Linked DNA regions of Homo sapiens: all the other regions are linked to region 2. The links are contacts of gene promoters, found by promoter capture Hi-C in blood cells and fetal thymus (Javierre and others, 2016). All regions are on one chromosome and are shown on one strand. The core of a region is centred on a gene start or on the middle of the fragment in contact, and the rest is flanking DNA. Distances in the headings are between cores, read along the strand shown.

Evidence for each region. The method cuts DNA at HindIII sites, captures the fragments that hold promoters and counts their contacts. A CHiCAGO score of 5 or more calls a contact.
Region 1: a contact is called between a fragment that was not itself captured here and the fragment with the promoter of SPMIP4 in region 2, in 1 of 17 cell types (neutrophils). The highest score is 6.3, in neutrophils.
Region 3: a fragment that was not itself captured here is called in contact with the fragment with the promoter of SPMIP4 in region 2 in 2 of 17 cell types (monocytes and total CD8 T cells); the score reaches 7.0 in monocytes.

Annotation. Positions count from the first base shown.
Region 1 is chr7:23,291,603-23,294,684 of GRCh38, forward strand. No RefSeq gene overlaps it. Among named protein-coding and RNA genes, the nearest start is that of MALSU1, 6.2 kb to the right of the region's middle. The HindIII fragment of the contact is 4,012 bases long and covers 1-3,082 here.
Region 2 is chr7:25,179,033-25,181,873 of GRCh38, forward strand. It overlaps SPMIP4 (sperm microtubule inner protein 4), which reads right to left and starts at 1,322. Exons shown (of 10, transcript NM_138811.4): 1 at 630-1,322; 2 at 143-300. The coding sequence starts at 276. The region is part of intron 1 of LOC124901603 (a long non-coding RNA gene); the gene reads left to right. RefSeq lists silencers at 828-1,107, 1,168-1,557. The HindIII fragment of the contact is 8,567 bases long and covers 1-2,841 here.
Region 3 is chr7:23,594,615-23,597,372 of GRCh38, forward strand. LOC105375187 (a long non-coding RNA gene) reads right to left here and starts at 2,711. Exons shown (of 2, transcript XR_927098.2): 1 at 2,503-2,711. The HindIII fragment of the contact is 327 bases long and covers 1,170-1,496 here.

The DNA of each region.
Region 1 (3,082 bases), core at 287-2,786, 1.9 Mb before region 2:
ATTTTTTTTCCAAGGTATAAAATAAGGGAGCTGTACTTCTGATATTGTTACCTTGTTCCTAAAAGTAGTAGCAGCTGTAAGCGCCAAATAATAACATAGCCTGACAGAAATGGAGTGTCCTGGCTGGGCGCAGTGGCTCACACCTGTAATTCCAGCACTTTGGGAGGCCGAGGTGGGTGGATCATGCGGTCAGGATTTTGAGACCAGCCTGGCCAAGATGGTGAAACCCCGTTTCTACTAAAAATACAAAAATTAGCCAGGCATGGTGGCAGGTGCCTGCAATCCCACCCTCTCGGGAGGCGGAGGCAGGAGAATCACTTGAACCTGGGAGGCGGAGGTTGCAGTGAGCCGAGATCATGCCATGGCATTCCAGCCTGGGCGACAGAGCAGGACTCTTTCTTGAAAGGAAAGAAAGGAAAAGGAAAGAAAAAAAGGAAAAGGAAAGAAAAAAAGGAACAGGAAAGAAAGAAAAAGGAAAGAAAGGGAAAGAAAGGCGTGTCCTTGGAAGCCACTCACACCTCACTAGGACTCAGGCTTGGACCTTTTCCCAGGAAGCTAAGGCAGCCTCTTGATATTTTAATAAGGCTGAATATGGATCAGCCTGTAGTGTTCCTGAACTCATTAGCTACACTTCTCAGAATTTCTTTGCAGTTTGGATTTGTGAAACCACCAGGCAGATAGGAGAATTGATTGGCCACAACTGTTTGGGAATGAATGTCTATTGTCAGATGCTTTCCTGAAGTGTGACCAAAAAGTTTGGAGTAGTAAAGTCCAAGGCCAAAGTTCCAGCTTGACCTGCTCTGTGAGGTGTTCCCTCACCCCCCTAGGTGGAATTAATCACTCTGACCTGCCTTCCTAGAACTTGGGGCTCCCTACTGTGGTGGAAGTGTTCCTTCAAGGGACTTGCCCCCAAACCACAAGCTCCCCAAAACGCACTGGCAGAGGAGGCAGGCTTTGTTTCTTTTGCCCAGCCCTCTAGAGTTCAGCAGCCAGAGGTTCCCCTCACCCGTTAATCACAATGCCTCAAATCTCACAATAATTCCAAAATGGAGGAACCTCATAAAACTGGGATAAGAAAATGAAAAGCAGAAGTTTTACTGGATTGTCAGCAGAGCTGATCAAAAGAAATCGGAGGCCCTTTAGAAATCAGGTTTTGGCAGAAAGAAAACAACCCAAGGTCTGGTCTTATGACATAGTGGGGAGTGAGGCCGTGTCGCACCTGTGAATCAATACTTAATATCACAGTTCAGCTCTGGGGACAAAACACTTCACAGGCTGTGGTAGATATGGCAGTAAAAACCCATGGGCTTCTCCAGGGGTTGATACCGTCACTGTGGTATTCTCCTGGCCTGTAACATCACCTCACAGCACCTCCAAGTTGCATCCCTTTAGGGGTTTCCATTCCCCCCAAGTCCATTGTGAAAGGGGCCCCCTGAAGTTGGCTAATTTGGGGCCCTGTAGTCCACTCTCCTTACCTCTGCCTCAAGACCCAGGTCTGTTCAAATAGCACCTCCCTGCAGAGACTTTTCCAGCTCTGGGGGAGAATTGCTGCTGTGTACCACAGCAGGTGGGCTCTCCTCTTTCAAACACAATTACACGGTATTGATGACATTTAATCATCATCTCTCCTACTCTCTGGGAGCTCCCTGGGTACAGATACTATGTTTTGTTTTTTATTTATTTATTTATTTGTTTATTTTGAGACGGAGTTTTGCTCTTGTTGCCCAGGCTGGAATGCAATGGTGTGATCTCACCTCACTGCAACCTCCGCCTCCTGGGTTCAAGTGTTTCTCCTGCCTCAACCTCTTGAGTAGCTGGGATCACAGGCACCTGCCACCATGCCTGGCTAATTTTTTGTATTTTTAGTATTGGCCAGGCTGGTCTCGAACTCCTGACCTCAAGTGATCCACCCACCTCGGCCTCTGAAGGTGCTGGGATTATAGGCGTGAGCCACCACGCCCAGCTGAGACAATGTTTTATTCATCTTTCCTCTCTCTGGCCTTAGTCCAGCGCCTGGCACAGAATGTTCACTTGAACCTTGGTGAGGCTCCTTGGGAGGGTGAATCACAAGTCTACGCAGAGTGACCCACAACCTGCAAAGCCCACCTACCAACATCGGGGTGACAAGAGGGGACCCCAATACCAATTTCTGAGGCTGTGGGAAAAACAGTCTGGCTCTGTGACAGGGCCCAGTAATCCAAGGGGCCAATGTGAGTGTTCAGAGGCACAGCTTCAGAACAAACAACGGCTGTGAAAGCTGAGGAAACAATGCTGCAAGGGATGGGAGTCACAGCCTGCACTTTGGTTCCACAAATAGACTAGGCAAATGGTGGAGGAGCGGCCTCCTCACATGGGAACCTCCTATGGGAGAGGCTGCAAGCAGTGCTCTGGGACGCTTGCAAACCACAGGCTCGGTGCCCTGAGAAGCCAACAGCTCATCTCATCGCAGGCCTCGGTGCCCACCCCAGGCTGCTCTCCCTGCCCTTACAAGCCCGGAAGACATGCCTGGCAAACCCACACAGAACATCTGAGTGGGACAGACAATACGAACCCCACAGCCCCAGGGGAGTTTGGGGTGCAGAGAGCTAGTACCTTACTCCTAGGTTTATAAAATACAAAGTCCCTGTTTGTCTTCTCTTGAAAAGGATTTTGTCTTCCTTCCAATGAGGATATTTACAAAGTGGGGGACAAAATAATTTTAAAAATATAAATATACAAATCCATAGTATTTATAACATTATAAGAGAGGTCATTTTAATCCTGGCCCTTCCTTCTGCAAGGTCTCTGGAGGGCAGAACCAGTACAAAGGCAGTGGAAATCCAGGAAAAAGGATTAAGTTTACATGAGGTGGGAATATTCACCAACAGCTACAGCTGCCTGGTGGTGGAATGAGCTGTCCTATGATGATGGGAAGGGTAAGCTGAGGCTGCAGGGTGAGCAGTGATTCCAACATTTTAGTTATAATGAACTTTTGTCGTAAAATGTATGGCTCTTTAAATGTCTGTTATTGAGCTCGGCATGGTGCCTGTAATCCCAGTGCTTTGGGAGGCCAAGGCAGGAGGATTCCTTGAGGACAGGAGTT
Region 2 (2,841 bases), core at 72-2,571:
ACCGTCTCAAAAACAAACAAACAAACAAACAAACAAGAAACAGAAGAGCCCCAGAACAATAAATGTTTTTCCTCACATAATAAAATACACGAATACATTAAAACTGCTTTTTCTTGTTTGCTTTTTCTAGTTTTTGTTTTACCTGTCCTCTGAGGCAGTTGGGCGAGTAACCGTCTGGAGGGGGTTGTGCAATTCATTAGAGTAAAAGGTGTTGGACAGTATGTCAGCTCCTTCAAGCTCCCTGCAACAGTAGGGCCTGCCGTGAATGACTTCCATGCTTCTTGGCTAAAAAGGCACAACCTGGAAAAGAAAAGGAGGGCACATTTGGCTTGTCGAGTCAAGGCAGGCAGAAAACACATTTTACACTGCTAAATTGTTCAACCTGACGCTGCACAGACGTCACAGGCTTCCCTCTGCACTGAAAGCCGTCAAATCAGTAATAAATAGAGACCTAAATAAGTTCTATGGAAATAAATTTCAACTGAAACAAATCCACAAAGTGGACGGTGCCTCCAAGTAGTCACCAGAATGATCATCCAGTAGGTTCGTACCAGTCCGCTACTTTGTGGCCATCAACTGACATTCAATTCCTGCCTTAAATTTAACTATAACTATTCAAGAAAACTCACTTGACTTTTAGCCTGTGGTCTTTCCGAAAATTAGAGACTCTTCATTCAACAAAATAAGCGCTGTCCTAAAGCCTTCGGGGATTCTGGACAAGAATCCCTTTGCAGATGGTGGAGTCAGTAGTGCAGCACGAACGGGACCCTAAAGGGGATTCCCGGTTTCCAACTGCGTCGGGGAGAATCCCACCTCTCTCTCGGACTTGGGGGAAGGCCAGGAGCCGGCGTAGCTGGGACCAAGGGTGCCAGGGGTCGAGGCCGAGCCTCACGGGCTGTCACTGCCCTGCAAGCGGTGCCTCGGGGGTCTGGACATACCTGGGACATGAGCCTGGGGGCGCTGCGGGACCGCGCCTCCCCTCCCCTCCCCGCAGCTGGCGGCCTTCGCGGGCCGAGGAATTTTGAGGTCGTCCGCACCTACGGCCCGGTGGAGCTGGCAGGCAGGGGCGGGGGCGGGAGAAGGACGGCGGGCAGGCCGGGGTGGGGTGGGGCTGGGGGCGCTTGTGACGGTGGCCGTGACCGCGGCATTAGGTGATGCGTCCTTGAGGGGCTGGGGGCTTCCGGGCGGCGAGCGGGGCGCAGTAGGAGGCTCTTAGAGACCTCGGAGGAAACCAGCCCAGCGCTACGGGACTGGCAAGAATGCGAAGAGGAACCGAGAGTGAACGGAGTGCGAGGCGCCGGGTCGGAGGCGAGAGGGGCTCTTCCGCCTTGCGACCCCTGGCCCCGCCTCCCGGTCCCTTGCCCCGCCCCTCTCGGCTCACCGCCCTGCCTCCAGTCGGACCCCGCCTTGCCCCACCCGCGCCCCGCCCCCAGGCGCCCTCTAGCGGCGGCGGCGATGGCGATACCAGTTTCTTTTTCCAGGGCTACCAGGTCTGGAGCTGTCTCAGGGCCGGCCAGGGAGCTCTCTCATGTGGACTGGGCGGAGGAGGAAGAGCTCCGGTCCAGTGGAGTCCCTGGTGAGGTCGGAGCATCCGACCTGTCCTCCCTCCCCAGGTCACCTCGCAAAAATTGGGGACAGTGTGGCCAGATAGAGGGTGGAGTCTGCAGGATTCTGAAACTGCAGCCCCTGGCATGGCGCCCTAACAGAGTCTCTGCTCCTTCCCTGGTGGGTGCGGACATGGCAAAGTCCTTTACTTGCCTCGTCCCCAGGGCCTAGCCCCACCTTGATTACCTCAGTTTTCCCCAAAAGATACAAATGTGAGCCATGAATCTGCACCTACAGGGTCATGAGTTCCTGTGATGGCTGACAATAAGGGATGTCACCCCCCCCTCGCCACCTGCCACCCCATCAAGGAATGGGATGTGAGGAGGTTAGGTTGTGTGTATATGTGTGATATGGTTAGGCTTTGTGTCCCCACTCAAATCTCATCTTGAATTGTAATACCCATAATCCCCGCTTGTCAAAGGAGAGACCAGGTGGAAGTAATTGGATCATGGGGGCAGTTTCCCCCATGCTGTTCTCGTAATAGCGAGTGAATTCTCACGAGATCTGATGGTTTTATAAGAGGCTCTTCTCCCTTCTCCCAGCACTTTTCCTTCCTGCCCCCTTGTGGAGAAGGTAACTGCTTCTCCGTGGCCTTCTGCCATGATTGTAAGTTTCCTGAGGCCTCCGCAGCCATGTGAGATTGTGAGTCAACTAAACCTCCTTCGTTTATAAATTACCCAGTCTTGGGCAGTTCTTTACAGCATTGTGAGAAAAGACTAATACAGTGTGGGAGGCTAGAAATGAGCCTGCAGGAACCAGAAGGTGAGGGTGAGAATGACCACCTCTGAGAAGAAGGGCGTTGAAACTGTGTGCCAAAGAGTTAAAGAAAACAGTCATAGAAATTCTTGAGTTTACAGGATGGCAGATAAAAGAAACAAATTGCTGAAATGCTGAAATGCCTGGGCTTGTAGGTTAATAAAACTGGCTGAAATCCACTGGAACATATAAGGCCAACTAGAGTCTGCACAGATCCAGCTTGCTGACCTTACAGCTGAATTTCTACTGCCATGTTTCATACTAACTCCTCACTGAATTTGCACGTGGAACCCTTAGGTAGCATGAAGAAATAAGAGCACATGCGCAAGGACTTTCCAGACTTCCTCTTTCCTTCCACCAAGCACCTGCTAATCCCAGAATCCACACTCAAAACCATTTCTAATAAAATAATTGTCCTAAAGCCAGCACAGGGAGACAGATTTGAGCTGGACTTCCTATTTCTTTGTTGGTTGACATGCA
Region 3 (2,758 bases), core at 83-2,582, 1.6 Mb before region 2:
CCACCATGCCCAGCTACTTTTTTTGTTTTGTTTTGTTTTGAAGAGACGGTGTTTCACTATGTTGCTCAGGCTGTCTCAAACTCCTGGCCTCAAGAGATCCTCCTGCCTTAGCCTCCCAAAGTGTCAAGATTATAAATGTAAGCCACTGTACTCTGCCTGGGATTTTCAAACATTAAGGCATGCCAAGTTTTCTGGGACTCCAACCAGCTATATTTGATGGCCCATTCTCATGCACACTTAAAAAACTGATGGGTTTATGAAACGTTACAACAGGTCTCACTTAATCCTTCATGGTCATTTCATTTATTCAGCTGGTTAAGCCTAGGTTCATGGCTCAAAACTATTAAGCAAACTGAGATTATCATTTTACTTTATATTTTTCCTTTTTTAAACTTTGTATCTGTTACTTGTTAAATTTTTGCAGAAGTATAGGTCTTAACAAAATAATGCTGGGCCAGCACTTTGAGATGACAGCCAAAGACTATAGACCTCAATAATAAACTCCAGGTAGACTTAGCCTGAGAGCCATTTTCTTCAAACCTCCCTTATTGCCCAAATATGGCTTAATGGTTTTTGACACTGACTCATCACCAATCACTCCCCACAATGAGGGAAGAAACCAGCAACCAGGACAGGTTCAACCTGGCCTCCAGGGACATCAGAATGTAACTACAAAATGACTGATCAGTGATGCATTCTGAGAAAGCTCTTGATCAAAAAAGGGAAATGTGAAAATTGTCAGAATCAAAATGGAGTCACTTGTGTTAAAAACAAAACACCCTGACAGAGCTGGGGAAGGCTAAGAAGGGAAGGCTTTCACATGTGTATACCTGATAACTAAACTATTGCAAAAGACTCTGCAAAAACCACAACCTTACATAAAGACCACTGCAACCTTACACAACAAGTACTTCTGTGTGGACATCTGCCCAGCAACTGCCTGTTGAACCTAGAACTGGAGTCACCCTTATTATTGATCCTTGTAGCCAAGCATAATAATTTCAAAGCAATTATTTAATCCTCCTCATTTTTTCTTTGTCTTCCTTTACCTCCCTGAATACACACAGAGTTTACTGTGGCATGTATATTCCCATTGCAATGCCCTATTCTTAAGTGAGTGTCTTTTTCTTTTAGAGGTCCTATTATTTAGGTTGACAGCTTTAAAATAAAGCTTGTTTTTGTTTTGTTTTGTTTTGTTTTTGAGGAAGAGGCTTGCTGTCGCCCAGGCTGGAGTGCAGTGGCACAATTATGGCTCACTGCAGACTCCACCTCCTGGGCTCAAAGTGATCCTCCTGCCCCCAGCCTCTTGAGTAGCAGGGACTATAGGTGCATGCCACCACAACTGGCTGACTTTGGTATTTTTTTGGGGGGTACAGATGGGGTTTTGCCATGTTGCCCAGGCTGGTCTTGAACTCCAGGCTCAAGCAATCCACTTGCCTCAGCCTCCCGAAGTGCTGAGATCATAGGCATGGGCCACCGTGCCTAGTCTATAATAAAGCTTGTTATCCGGTAGCACAAGTTTTCCTCCTCCCACTCCTTCTCCTCTTCTTTTTTTTTCTTCCTCCTCTTCCTCATGAATGCTTGTCTTTGCTCTTCCATAACATTTTGAATTAGCTTGTCAAGTTTCTCACACATACACAGAAATTTATTGAGATTTTGTTGGGAATTGCACTGGCTCTGTAGGTAGGTTTGGAGAGACTTGGCATTTTTCAGTATTGACTCTTCCAATTTATGAACATGTTACATCTTTATTTAGGTCTTCTTCAGTGTCTTCCAATGTTTTCTTCAGGCAGGTTTTGCATTTCTTTGATCGATTTATTCCTAGGTACTTGATATTTGTTTGGAGCTGTTGGAAATGGTATCTTTAAAAAAATTATCTTTTTTACTAGCATATATAAATAAATATTGATTTTTTAAAATATGATTTTTGTATCTATTAACCTTGTTAAAAACTTTTATTGTTAACAGTTTATCTGCAGATTGTTTTGAAGTGCCACAAACAATTTTTTTTTTTTTTTGAGACGGAGTTCTGCTCTTGTTGCCCAGGCTGGAGTGCAGTGGCGCGATATCAGCTCACTGCAACCTCCGCCTCCTGGGTTCAAGCAATTCTCCCGCCTCAGCTCCCCGAGAGGCTGGAATTACAGGCGTCCGCCACCTCGCCCTGCTAAGTTCGTATCTGTAGTAGAGACGGGGTTTCACCATGTTGGCCAGGCTGGTCTCGAATTCCCGACCTCAGGTGATCCTCCCGTCTTGGCCTCACAAACTGCTGGGATTACAGGCATGAGCCAACGGCGCCCGGCCTCCACGTACATAATTACATAATCTATGAAAAAATAATTTTGTTTCTTCCTATTTAATCTTCAATCCTTTTATTTTTCTTGCCTCACTCCACTGGCTAAGGACCTTTGGCTTCAATAATGGGTAGTCTCATCTGTAGCACACTTAATCATCACTAAGCTTTCCCAGCCTCAGGTCAATAGTATTAGGAGGTTGGTTCCTCACCGGAGGGTCGGGAACAAGACGCCAGAGCCCTTCTTCCAGCGCCTGCAGCGAGTTAAGGCCGAGGGTATGCCTCTGGCGGGCTCATCTTCCAACACAGAAGACCCCGCCGCCCTCTCTGGTTGCCGCGCAGCTGCGTCGTTCTGACCCAGGGTAGGTGCAGGGCGGCTGGAAGCACGTGCCGCCGCTTCCTCATTCTGGGACTACATCCCCCACAATGCCGCGCGCCGCGGGCGGCTGGCCCCCGAGTGCGGGAAGG